Regions from separate parts of the Homo sapiens genome. Here regions 1 and 2 are each linked to region 3. The links are contacts of gene promoters, found by promoter capture Hi-C in blood cells and fetal thymus (Javierre and others, 2016). All regions are on one chromosome and are shown on one strand. Each heading gives the region's core, a stretch centred on a gene start or on the middle of the fragment in contact. The rest is flanking DNA. Distances are from core to core; before and after follow the strand shown.

Evidence for each region. The method cuts DNA at HindIII sites, captures the fragments that hold promoters and counts their contacts. A CHiCAGO score of 5 or more calls a contact.
Region 1: the fragment with the promoter of PPP1R3F here is called in contact with the fragment with the promoter of SLC38A5 in region 3 in 1 of 17 cell types (neutrophils); the score reaches 5.6 in neutrophils.
Region 2: a contact is called between the fragment with the promoter of WDR45 here and the fragment with the promoter of SLC38A5 in region 3, in 7 of 17 cell types (non-activated CD4 T cells, naive CD8 T cells, activated CD4 T cells and 4 more). The highest score is 7.9, in non-activated CD4 T cells.

What each region holds. Positions count from the first base shown.
Region 1 is chrX:49,267,038-49,271,613 of GRCh38, reverse strand. It overlaps PPP1R3F (protein phosphatase 1 regulatory subunit 3F), which reads right to left and starts at 1,821. Exons shown (of 4, transcript NM_033215.5): 1 at 741-1,821. The coding sequence starts at 1,744. RefSeq lists a silencer at 1,546-1,785 and enhancers at 2,486-2,535, 2,233-2,732. The HindIII fragment of the contact is 7,823 bases long and covers 1-4,576 here.
Region 2 is chrX:49,078,630-49,082,993 of GRCh38, reverse strand. WDR45 (WD repeat domain 45) reads left to right here and starts at 3,107. Exons shown (of 11, transcript NM_001029896.2): 1 at 3,107-3,243. It also overlaps the pseudogene RNU4-52P. RefSeq lists silencers at 2,338-2,407, 2,650-2,944 and enhancers at 2,650-2,944, 2,656-3,156. The HindIII fragment of the contact is 3,362 bases long and covers 2,150-4,364 here.
Region 3 is chrX:48,469,010-48,472,548 of GRCh38, reverse strand. SLC38A5 (solute carrier family 38 member 5) reads left to right here and starts at 2,289. Exons shown (of 17, transcript NM_033518.4): 1 at 2,289-2,367; 2 at 3,113-3,214. The HindIII fragment of the contact is 10,592 bases long and covers 1-3,539 here.

The DNA of each region.
Region 1 (4,576 bases), core at 572-3,071, 800 kb before region 3:
GGAATCCTGGTTTCCTGCTCTGTCAGAAAGAGAATCTGCTCTACCCCCCACTGGCAAAGCCCTTGGTCCACACTATGTCATTGCAGTTCTCTCCACTCCAGCACACTGCTGATCATTCACACCAAGCTCATTTCCACCCCAGGACCTTTGCACTTGCTGTTTCCTCTACCTAGAACACCCTTGTTCCATATATGCACATAACTGTTATTCATCATCCAGGACTTAGTTTAAATGAAACCTCCTCAGAAAAGTCCTCCCTGTTCCTTTTCCTACAAACTCTCCCCCACCTCCCCACCGTATCTGCATAACTCTTCTTTATCATCATTCGGGACTCACCTCCTCAAAGGCCCTCCCTTTAACAGCATGTCTGACACAGTCATTCCCTCCCAATCTATCCCCTTACTCCCTTCAGCAGCTAACTTTGTCCCTATTTATCCTATCTGCTTGCTTGCTTGTTTTTTCAAACTGTCTCCCATAGGAGCCTGTATGAATCCTTGAGGGTAGGGTAGATGTCTGTCTTGTTCAGGGCTTTACAGTGGAACTCAATAAATGGAGGAATAAAACCCCAGTTAAAACAGTGCCTAGCACGTGTTTGACCTCCATCACTCTTTGACTGACTGACTCAATGCACCCTCCTCCCTGTCCTGGAGAGCAGGCCTGAGGGGTTCCTGGGCCGGAATGCTTGTCCTCCATCCCAGACACAGCCCTGCGTTGGCGGAGGTGGCGCTGGCTGACATTACCTGCGCCTCACCGGCTTCATGCAGCTCTTCAGCTGCCTGGCCTCAGCCTCCACGGGACCCTGGCACTCGGGCTGTGGCTCCAGCTGCGGCAGCTGCTGCTGCTGGGGCAGCCCTTCGGCATCAGTGGGTGTGGGAGCGGGTGCGATCCGGAGCAGGACTGTGTAGTTGCGGCCGTGGTTGTTGGCCCAGAAAGTGCCCTCAGGGGTCTCATAGCGCACCACGAAGTCGAGGCGCGCCCCATCGCCCGCGCCCTCAGCAAAGGGCAGCTGGAAGGCAAAGCGGTCGGTGCGGCCGCCGTCGTCGGGCGAGGAGGCGGATGCCTGGCCGGGACCCAGGCCGAGCCCCGGATCCAGGATGGGATCTCCTGCTCCTGTTCCTCCCGCTCCTGCCCACGGCGGGCTGCGCGGGACGTAGCGCGCTGGGTGGTCGCAAAAGGAAGCCCAGCCGTCGTGTGAGGCCCGCACGTGCACCGCCTTCTCGAAGGAGCGGTTCAGCACGCGTACCAACCCGCGCAGCACCGGCGGGCGGCCCCCAGGCACCCACACCCCGGCACCCCCGGGGACCGCTCCGGGAGGCGGCAGCAGCGCCTCCAGCTCCACCATGACGCGCCCCAAGCGCTCCAGACGGCCCGGCGCGGGCGGCAGCGAAAATGTGGGGACCAGGTAAAACCCCCCGCCAGCGGGGACGGGGCACAGCGGTGAGGGCTCGGGGCAAGCCTCCTCTTCCTCCTCCCCTTCATCCCCATCCTCGCCATCGTCGTCCTCGTCGGCCCCGCCGCCGCCGCCGCCATCTTGCCCGGCCGCCGCCGCCATCTTGCCCGCCCCGGGCCCGCCCCACGGCCGGTAGCGGCGCAACTGCGCCAGCGGCAGCCCCAAGGCCTCGTCGGCGAACAGCACCCTCCGCGGGGCCACCGCCGCCTCGACCGAGGTGCGGGGCTCACCCGCGGCCGGCGAGGGGGGCGCGGAATGCCGCAGCGGGGGCTCCACAGGGGCCGTACGCGCCATATCGGCGGCGGCGGCGGCACCGACGGCACCGGCGGCGGGACCGGCGGGGGCAGGGCCTGAAGGGGCGGGCAGCCAATGGGAAGGCCAGCGCGGAGGGGTACGGCTCACGGGGGCATAGGCGGTGAGATGAAGACAAGTATTGCAGAGGGCCAATGGGCAGCCATGCACGGATGACGTACAGCGAATTGAGAGCCGGAGAAGCACGCAGCCAATGGGGATGCCCGGGAGTGGGCGGTGTAGGGGGCGGGATGATCGAGGAATCAATGGAGAGGCCGGAATGGGGGTGGTGCGAAATCCATGATGAAGAAAACAGAAGCAGACAGCTAATGCGGAAGTCTGAGCGAGAGAGGCATGTGGGCGGTGGGAAAAGTGGAATGGCTACAGGCGATGAGGGCAGCCGGGAACGAACGCAGAGGCCCAAAAAGTGGGAGATCCCGCGGGTTGCGTAGGCGGTGGAACGGTAGCTAGAGAGAGAGAACAGCCAATGGAGAGCCACGCGTGGGATGACGACAATGGCTGCAGCGAGCCAATGGGGAGGCTTGTGAGCGTGCACTGCGGCTTCGAAGGGGTGGTGCCAAGGTGGAGCTAGCCAATACGAAGGCTAAAAGGAGACCAAGAGGCGGGTGTGTAGGGAGCCGAGCCAATGGAGGTGGAGGCTGAAGGCGGGAGCGAGGACGAGAGCTGGCGGATAGCCAATGAGGGAGCCAGGGTGAAGGCGTAGAGACCTCAAAGGACAGTACTAGTATGGGATGAGCCAATGCCGAGGCTAGATAGTGCAGCGGGACGGAGGGAGGACTTGGAGGCAAGATGGGGAAAAAAGCAGAGCCGACGGGGGCAGTGTAGGTGGTGTGAAGGGAGGCATGAGTAGCCAATAAGGAGGCTGGAGAGGAGGACGCTGTGTAGACAGAGTCTGAGGTATTGGGTGGCCGGACAGCAGAACCATAGAACGCAGGCAGCCATTAGGAAAAATGTGCTTCTCAGGGATGGGGTTACCCTCTCCCTAACCCTCCGTGACTCCCCATTGCCCCAGGAATACCCAGAGCCCCTGAAGGCCTAGACCACACCTTGGTGTGTGAACTAGGAAAGTGAAAATGACTGTCCTGTTGCAGTTAGTTACTTACTGGGTCCTCCCTGCCCAACTACAACCTTTTCTTGAGCAGTGCCACAAGCCAAGAATGCCCCTGATTGTTAGCCGCAAGCACTCTCCAGGACTTGATACTATTGTTGAATGAATGGCCGAATAGGAAATTTAACTTTCTGAAGGATTCACTTTTTTAAATTTCAGCTCAGCAAACACTGACCTGACTGTGTGCTACCAGAAGTTGATTGGGCATATGGGTAGCTTCTGACTAATGGAATCACAATCAAAGCCCTGTCCTTCTTGCCCAACCTGACACTCCACACCCCACAGGGGCCTCACCTCCCTTCTTTCTGTCCCCCCATCTCTGCTTCTACTGTTCCCTCTCCCAAGAGTGCTGTTCCTTCTGCTGCTTCCATCTAGTAAACTCCTTTCGCTCTCCCTTTGGGGTCTCACCTTCTGTGGGAACTCAACTGCAGCTTTTGTCCGCTGAACACATCCATTCATACATTCCTTCTCCATCCTGGGAAGATTTACTGAACACCTACTGAGTGCCAGGTTCTGAGCATGCTGTTATCTCATTAGAACCTCACAGCATCCTAGGAGGGAGGTGATCCTTCCAGCAGCCCCTCTCCCCAGGTCTCCATGTTCAGGATGTCCATGAGTTAGAAATGAATATGTTCAGCTGCAAGTAACAGAAAAATCATAAAATAATGGGGGCTTAAGCAAGACAGAACTTTATTTTTTTCTCACCTAAAAGTTCAAGCTGGCAAATAGTCCAGGGACTCCTTCCTGCCCACCTGGTTTGGGCATTGTCTGTCCCGATCTGGCTCCAAGACTCTCAGTCTTCAACAAATCCTTTTGGCTGTCTATTAAAAATATTTACCAAATCCATCCTCTTCTCACCACCTCCACTGCCAGCACTATCACCAGTCACCTAGACTACTGCAGTAGCCAGCTCCTTGCTGGTCCCCTGCTTCCACATTCAGGCCCTAGACCCCATTGTACACTCAGCATTCAGGGGCTTCCTGTTAAATCCTAACACGGTTTGTGTTTCTCCTCTGCTTGCAACCCTGTCATGCCTTCCTCCTCACTCAGCGTTGAAGCCAAAGTCCTTACCATGGCCTACAAGGTCCTGCGTGGTCTAACCTCCGAGTCCCCTTTCTGACCTCACCTCCAGCTTCTCTTCTTGCTCTCTCCACACTAACCACACCAGCCCCCTTGTAGACCTTGAACAAATCAGGTACATTCCCACCTCAGGACCTTTGCCCTGGCTGTTTCCTTTGGAGTTCCTCAGATATCTAGCTGGCTCCCTCCCTCATCTCCTTCAAGTCTTTGTCAGAGGCCCCTGTCTCTGGGGACTTTTCCTGACCCGTTTAATCTTGCCTACTCACCCCCAACTCCCAGCCCTCCCAGTCTCCTTCCCGAGAAGCCCTCCATGAGAGAGGATATAGTCCAGTATAGAGGGGAGGTAGCGACCTCTACCCCTCTCTGCCCTCCTGACCCCAGCCCCCATTCTGCAAGGATCTTGGCTTTCAGCAGCCGTAGCATTTCCCTCTCACACCCTGGGCCTGCCCAAGGGGCCAGCTCACATTCTCGGCCACCATCCTCACTTCGTTTGCCTCCTATATCTCTGGCCACTCTCTTTCATGGAGTGAGTGACAGTAAGGGACAGATGGTCTGGGGAAGGTATAAGGAGAATGCAGCCCACACCTCTGATCCTGAGAGAGAAAACTAGCCCCCTTTTCCAGGAG
Region 2 (4,364 bases), core at 1,858-4,357, 610 kb before region 3:
GCAGGAGAATCGCTTGAACCCGGGAGGCGGAGGTTGCAGTTAACCGAGATCGCCCCACTGCACTCCAGCTTGGATGACAGAGCGAGACTCCGTCTCAAAAAAAAAAAAAAAAATTAGCTGGGCGTGGTGGTGCATGCCTGTAATCTCAGTTACTCAGGAGGCTAAGGCAGGAGAATCACTTGAACCCAGGAAGCAGAGGTTGCAGTGAGCCGAGATCGTGCCACTGCAGTCCAGCCTAGGTGACAGAGTGAGACTCCATCTTAAAAAAAAAGAAAGAAAGAAAAAGAAAAACCAAGAGAGTGAGAGGAAGAAATTGTGGGTTTCACTAGAAAGTCACAGGAGAGGGCAGAGAAGTGATTGCTGGTTTGGCAAGATTATTATTCATCAGTGGTCTGGTTAAGAGCAGTCCCAAAGACACAGGAGTGACAAACACCAAATTGAATTGAGTTGAATATGGTCTGGGACATGAGGAAGTGGAGTCTGAAGAAAGCCAGATGATTGGCCTTGTTGAGGAGCACAGTAATGGAATCATGCCAAGGGGAGTATATAGGGCCAAAATTCACAAGTAAATATATACATGGGAATTGACGACACAGTATCTGAAACAACCTAGGCAGCCATCAGTTGGGGAAGGGCTGAACAATGCTACATAATATCATGAACCAGTTAAAAAGGATGAGTTAAAAAGATGTTCTTATATATTAATATATGAAAAAACAGAAGCATCAAAACAATACTTCAAAAAAAGTAAAGGGGGGATTTCATCAATGTGAAACCCTGATTGTATTAAAAGTATGAGATTTCTCTGTATTTTTTCTTTAATATTCAGTCTTCATAGACTGTCAAAAATTGCCAATGCCGACTATATTGCAAGTCTTCGGGGCGGGGTATTGGGAAGTTTCCAATTAGCAATATCCACACCTTGGCTAAACCTCATTGGCTATGATACTGCCACTGCAAAAAGCATATTTCTTTTTTTTCAAGAATATTCTTTTTTTTTTTTTTTTTTTGGAGACAGGGTTTCCCTCTGTTGCCCAGGCTGGAGTGCAGTGGCGCGATCTTGGCTCACTGCAACCTCTGCCTTCTGGGTTCCAATGATTCTCCTGCCTCAGCCTCCCAAGTAGGGGACTTACAGGTGCCCGCCACCACGCCCGGCTAATTTTTTGTATTTTAGTAGAGAGGAGGTTTCACCGTGTTACCCAGGGTGGTCTCAAACCCCTGAGCTCAGGCAATCCACCTGCCTCGGCCTCCCAAATTGCTGGGATTACAGGCATGCACCACCATGCCCAGCCCTTTTTTTTTGAGACGGGAATTTCGCTCGTCTCCCAGGCTGGAGTGCAATGGCAGGATCTGGGCTTGCTGCAACCTCCGCCTCCTAGGTTTAAGTGGTTCTCCTGCCTCAGCCTCCCCAGTAGCTAGGATTACAGGCGCGTGTCACCACGCCCGGCTTTTTTTTTTTTTTTCGAGACAGAGTCTCACTCTATTACCCAGGCTGGAGTGCAGTGGTGCGATCTCTGCTCACTGCAACCTCCTCCTCCTGGCTTCAAGTGATTCTCCTGCCTCAGCCTCCCGAGTAGCTGGGACTACAGGCACGCACCACCATGCCTGGCTAACTTTTTGTATTTTTAGTAGAGAGGGGGTTTCACCATGCTGGCCAGGCTGATCTCGAACTCCTGACCTCATGATCTGCCTGCTTCGGCCTCCCAAAGTGCTGGGATTACAGGCGTGAGCCACCGCGCCCAGCCTATTTATTATTTCTTAATGTAAAGTTTAATTAAAAATCCTTCCAGCCGGGCGCAGTGGCTCACGCCTGTAATCCCAACACTTTGGGGGGCCGAGGCAGGCGGATCACCTGAGGTCAGGAGTTCAAGACCAGACTGATCAACAGGGAGAAACCCGGTCTCTACTAAAAATACAAAATTAGCTGGGCGTGGTGGCACATGCCTGTAATCCCAGCTACTTGGGAGGCTGGGGAGGCTGAGGCAGAAGAATCCCTTGAACCCGGGAGGCGGAGGTTGTGGTGAGCCAAGATCGCGCTAATTGCACTCCAGCCTGGGCAAAAAGAGCCAAACTCTGTTAATCAAAAAAAAAAAAAAAAAAAAAAATTCCTTCCAGTATGCATATAATTTGGGGCCTTTTTTTAAAAGCTTTATCATAGGTAGGACCTCTTTTTTTTTTTTTTTTTAACCCAAAGCATTCATACCTTTTACTATCAAAAAGCTATTTTGTATTTTGTAAAAATAAAAGCAGAGGCCGGGCGTGGTAGCTTAAGCCTGTAATCCCAGCACTTTGGGAGGCCGAGGTGGGTGGATAACCTGAGGTCAAGAGTTCGAGACCAGCCTGACCAACATGGTGAAACCCCGTCTCTACTAAAAATACAAAAATTAGATGGGCGTGGTGGCGCACGCCTGCAGTCCCAGCTACTCCGGAGGCTGAGGCAGGATAACCGTTTGAACCCGGGAGGCGGAGGTTGCAGTGAGCCGAGATCGCGCCACTGCACTCCAGCCTGGGAGACAGAGCGAGACTCTGTCTCAGAAAACAAAACTAAACAAAACACAAAAGACAAAACTCAGAGCTGGCGGGGTTGGGGGGACAGGGTGGGGAGAAAGAAAGCGAAATCTGTTCCTTGGCTTCCCGGAGCCAAGGAGGTTTCTCCACTTTCAAGGTCTCCAGGTCCGCCCCCGCCTGTAACCCCCAGCGCCGCCCCTCTGGAAGCCTGGGAGGACTGTGTGTTGCGAACCGGGGCGGCTACTCTCGGCCGCCGCGGAGGTCCGCGTCTTGTTAGCAGGGAAGGTTTACTCCCCCATTGTGGGTGACCAAGGGGCTGAGGGCTTGGCCGGTTTCGCTTTGCTGGGGGCAAGGCACGCTCTCTCTCCCCACCCTTCCGGGTTCCCTCAGACAGTCTCGGCCTTGAGGAACCCCCTTCGCCTCCGGTCCCCCAGCCAACCTTCCTCCGCTCCCCGCGCCCTCCCCGGAGAACCCCACTGTCACTCGCGATGCTCCGAAGACCCGGGAACTAGGCGAGGAAGGCGGTGGCCGCCTTTTTCCAGCTGGGGTGAGTCATTTCCTGCGACAGGCTCCCTCCCCCGGAAGTAGGGCCTGATGTAAACACCCGAGCCGGGCTCCAAGGCCCGGGAGGTCAGAAAACCGGGCCGCGGGCGGCACCGACAGCTGGGGCCCGGGTCAGGGACACGCGGAGGTCAGGCCGGTGAAGGCGGCAGGAAGCTGGAGCACGATCCCAGGGTTGGTTGGGTCTGGGGGAGGCTGGAAGTCTTTCGAGTAGGGGTCTAAGGCAGAGGTCTTGAGTGGGTGCTGGCGTTGGAAGGAGCATGCGGCTGGTCTTGGGAGAGGGGCGAGGCATCCCGGACAGAGTCTTGGAATGGAGGTGCAAAAAAGGGGTGTTGAAAGTTGGAGCTGTCCAGAGAATAACTCTAAGGCAGAGCTGTCCAAAGAAAGAGCATGAGGCATTCCAGTGGAGGGTGTAACTGAAAGAAAGGAAGGAGATTTGGACTCTTGGAGGATGGGGGAGGGAGTATGTCTGGCCAGAGTTATTGGGGAGTTGAGGATTTGAAGGGAAGTTGGGGGCTCTATGGCAGTAATCTTAGTAGGGGACTGCGCAGGCATCTTAGGGGTTGAGGTTCTCCTAGGTAGGAGTTTTGGGTGGTTTGTTTTGGGCAAGGGTCTTAGAAGGCAAGGGTGCCCTGGGGCGGGGTCTTGGATAGGGGTCTAGAGGGGGAATCTTAGGAGGATGGGGGGGGTTCCTGGGGTTGGGTCCAGGCCAGGTTATGTTGTAGTCAAGGACAGCAGAACACAAGGAAGGAGATGTCCCAGGGGTGGAAAATTTAGAGTGCTAGGGGGAATCCTAGGGTAGAGTCCCCAGGGCATAAGCCAATCTAAGGGAATGTCTAGGCTGGCCCTGAAGGGTAGTTACCAAGGCATGAGAAGGGGTCATCCCAAGGTAGGCATCCTGAAGGAGTTTGGGGAAGCCGGTTGAGGGGGAAAGGTGTGAGAGGACTCTGGGGTGGTCAAATAGGTTGGGGTACAGTTAGAAGGGTATGAGCAGAGGAGTTCCTGGGGATGGCAGACCAAGCATAGCAGTCCCAGGGCCAAGTCAGGGAGGTACAAGAAGTGCATCTCCTAGCCCACTTTTGTCTATTTATTGAGAGAGTCCGGTGCTAGGTCAGGTTTGAAGATGAGAAATGGGTTGGGAGTGGTTCCAGGCCATGTCTGGCATTGGGATCAAGATTGGCTGGCGGTGGGGAGGAGATATCACGGGGGCACCCCCTATCACATTACTTCCTGACAAGTCAGTGAGGGCCAGCATGTAAAGAGGAGGTGTGGGGTCCACGTCAGTGTGGGCCTGG
Region 3 (3,539 bases), core at 1,040-3,539:
CAAAGCCTCTAGTGACAGGTGTCTCTTTCCCTGGCCAGCTGGTAGCACAGATGTGTAATGGCTCTGGGTGGGGGAGGGGTATGAGGGGAGAGAGAAATCAGAGTAGATAGGAAAGGAGACAGAGGCTGGAGGAGGTTGGGCAGGAGTGTGTGCGCACGTGTGTGTGAATATGCTGAGTGTATCTCACCTGCCCGTTCTCAGCCACAGCCACACGTATGTGAGCTGTGCCTGCGTCTTCCTATGTAACTTGCCTGGTGCTGCGTTCTGTCTATGGCCGCCTGCCAAACTTGTGCTTTTTTTTTTTTTTTTTTTTGAGATGGAGTCTCACTCTGTCGCTTGGGCCGGAGTGCAGTGGCGCGATCTTGGCTCACTGCAACCTCCGCCTTCCAGGTTCAAGCAATTCTCTTGCCTCAGCCTCCCGAGTAGCTGGGATTACAGGAACCCGCCACCACGCCCAGCTAATTTTTTTTGTATTTTTAGTAGAGACGGGGTTTCGCCACGTTGGCCAGGCTGGTCTCGAACTACTGACCTCATGATTCACTCACCTTGGCCTCCCAAAGTGCTGGGATTACAGGCATGAACCACTGCACCCGGCCCAACTCATACCTTTTTTTTTTTTTTTTTTTTGGCAACCGTGTGCATTGGTACTGTCTGTCGGTGCAGTTCATCTATATGTTGTTGTGTGTGTGTGTTGCTTGGGTGTTTGTCTCCTTTGTAATGGTCGTGGGTGACAAGTGTGTCAGAGTACTTGTCCCTCCTATATGTGTATCTATGCGCACGTATCTTTCTTTGTGTGTCTGCTGCTGTATTTGTGTCTCTTCTTAGCGAGTGGCTGCAGGTATGTGTGCCCTCGGGGTGTTTCTTCTGGTGCCATGGTATGAGTACTATCTGGTTCTCTTGTTTTTTCCTTGTGTAGCTTTCAGTGTGGTTTCTGGATTTTTTCTTTGCAACGATAGTAAGCGTACTCTGCATTCCTGTGCTTTGTGTTTGTGTGCAGGTATATGCTTTCCCTATATGTTTCTTTTCTGACTTGATTTGTGACTAGCTGTGTGTGTACACGGCTGTGTGCAGCCATTTGCTGAAATGCAGTTGTGTGTGTGTGTGTGTGTGAGAGAGAGAGAGAGAGGAGAGAGAGAGAGAAGGAGACTATGGCTTTTCTGTTTGTACAAAAATCATGTCAGCCTATGAGTGCCTCTCTCTGTGACTGGAGCTGTATGTGGTTACATGTGGTCACAAGTGCACATTCAAGTTCACATACACAGAGATATCATTTTAGGGCTTGAACCTGGAAGTTTGCCTCCAGGGTCATCTGAACCTGGATTCAGGTTCAGATCCAGGGCCATCTGAACCTGGATCGTGTGTGTGGGAAAGACCCAGGACCCACACACAATGTCATCAGCTGTGTGTAATTGTGTGCTCTGTGTGTGGCTGTGAATCTGTGTGTGTGATTTGCCTGTTGATTGTCTTTGGCATGGCTGTGGGTCCACGGGCGGTGAGGTTCAGGAGTCTCGAGTGTCTGGAAATCGGCACAAGCCTATCCCTGTGTTAGTCTGTGCTCTCTGTGAGCGGCTCTGAGCCTGTCGGTATTGATAGCTGTAAGACTATCGTCACTCTGTGTGGCCACGTGTGTGACTGTCCCATGAGCCATTGCTCTTAACGTGCAGTGGTGAGTCTGTGTGTGTTCATGTCTGTCAGTCTTTATTCTCTTGTGTGGCTGTGAGTCTTTGTGCACCTCTGTGAGTGATGGCGAGTTGGCCCCCGTATCTGAGCCCCTTGATGGGGCTGTGATGGGTCCTGTTGTGTAGCTGCGATTCCTGAGTGTGCAGGAGTCTCTCTCCCGCTGTGGGGAAGTAAACGCCCCATCCCTTGTCCTCCTCCAACTGTGGGTGGGGTGAGGGCATCTAGGCCAGCTTTGAAGCCCCAGCCAGCTCCTGGCCTTTCCGGGAATTCTGTGTTCCCTGTCGGGGGTGGGCAGGCGGGCGAGGGGCCCAGACAGAGGCCTCTTGTCCACCTGGGCTTCAAGCAGCCCAGTCGAGGTGGTCCCAGACCCCAAGTCCACCCTGCCTGACATCCTGTAGCGGACACGTGGCTTGCCTGGGACAGGCATGCCTGTCATATGCCTGGAGGGGAGTGAACAGACGGACTCCCATAGAAGACAGACGGACAGACAGATAGTGGGACTTCTCAGGGCTTGGACAAGCCCCACCCCACGCTTGGGGTGGGGTCCAGGACTACAGTGCCCGCCCAGTTTGCGGACAGTGTGAGTTCACAGTCCACATTCCCCACCCAGCCACAAATGCCCTCCCTGCCTCCCTCTGGGGGCCCCCAAGATCTAGGGTCCTCTCGTGCCTAGGCTGTCTGCCTGAGGTCTGCCTGGAATAGCCTGGCTACTACCCCTGCACCTGTTCCCCTGCTGTCCCCAGGCCTCTCTGCCTGAATCTGCCTCTCTCTGCCTCTTTTCTCCTGTCCCTCCAGGAGTCTCTCTGCCTCAACCACTCTCTCTGCCCCTTCATCTCTCTGAGCTGGTGTGTCTGGTCCTACCCTCTGTTTGGGGAGCTGTCTGGCTCTGTCCCCCACCTCTTGGCCAGCCTGTGTCTCCTGTCTATGACTGAGCCCAATTGCCTGTTGCCTTTCTGCAGGTGTTTCCACGAGCCTATCCCTACCCACCTGTTTGTTTCTGAGTCTGCCTGTGTGTCCCTTTCTCCCTGTCTCTGCCTGTCTTCCAAGCTCCCCTAGCATCCCCTCCTCCCGCCCATCTGTCTTTCTGTCCCTTCTGTGGTCTGTCTGTTCCTGTGCTGTTTCTCATGCCTGCTTTCTTTGTAACTTCAGTTCTCCTACTCTCTCTCTGTCTCCTCTCTGCACCTTTTTCTGCCATCCATCCCATCCTGCTGTCCGTCTGCTCTGTGAGTCCATCCCCTCTGTCTGCCTGTCACTCTCTCTAGCTGTGGGTCTACACCCTCAATCTTTCAGGCCATTTCCCCCACCATCAACACACAAACAAACCGCTGTCTCCCTCCAAGTGGGTCCAGATAGGGGGCGCCCCTTCTCCACCTCTTCCCCCGCCCAGGGCCAGAAGGAGGGAAACGAAATTAAAATTAACATTTCTTCTCAGGAAAAAAAAAAAAGTACCGCTCCAGAGCAGGAGCCTAGGCAGCCGAGAGGGTGCCCGAACCTGAGTCTGAGTTGCGGCCACTTCAGGAGCTGAGAGGAGCAGGTAGGTGAGGAGGGAGCGTGGGCTGCGGGGATGGTGTTCCTGGGGGCCTGAGATATGAGTAGGGGTCCTGGGAGGGGGCTCGGGGTTCCTTGGAGACATTTTAGCACTAGTGGGGAATGGAATGGCGTGTATGGGGAGGTCCTTTTTGTACCCTGATCCCAGGAAGTGAATTCAGGTGTGGGTGGGAGGCTCCGGAGGGTGCTGGTGGTGGGGGATGGGACTCCTTGAGACCCTCCCTGTCCCAGGAACGGGATTCAGGACTTGGGAAAAGGATTTCCTGAGCCAGTTTGAGCTCTAATGGGGACCTTGAATGGGGGTTTCTGAG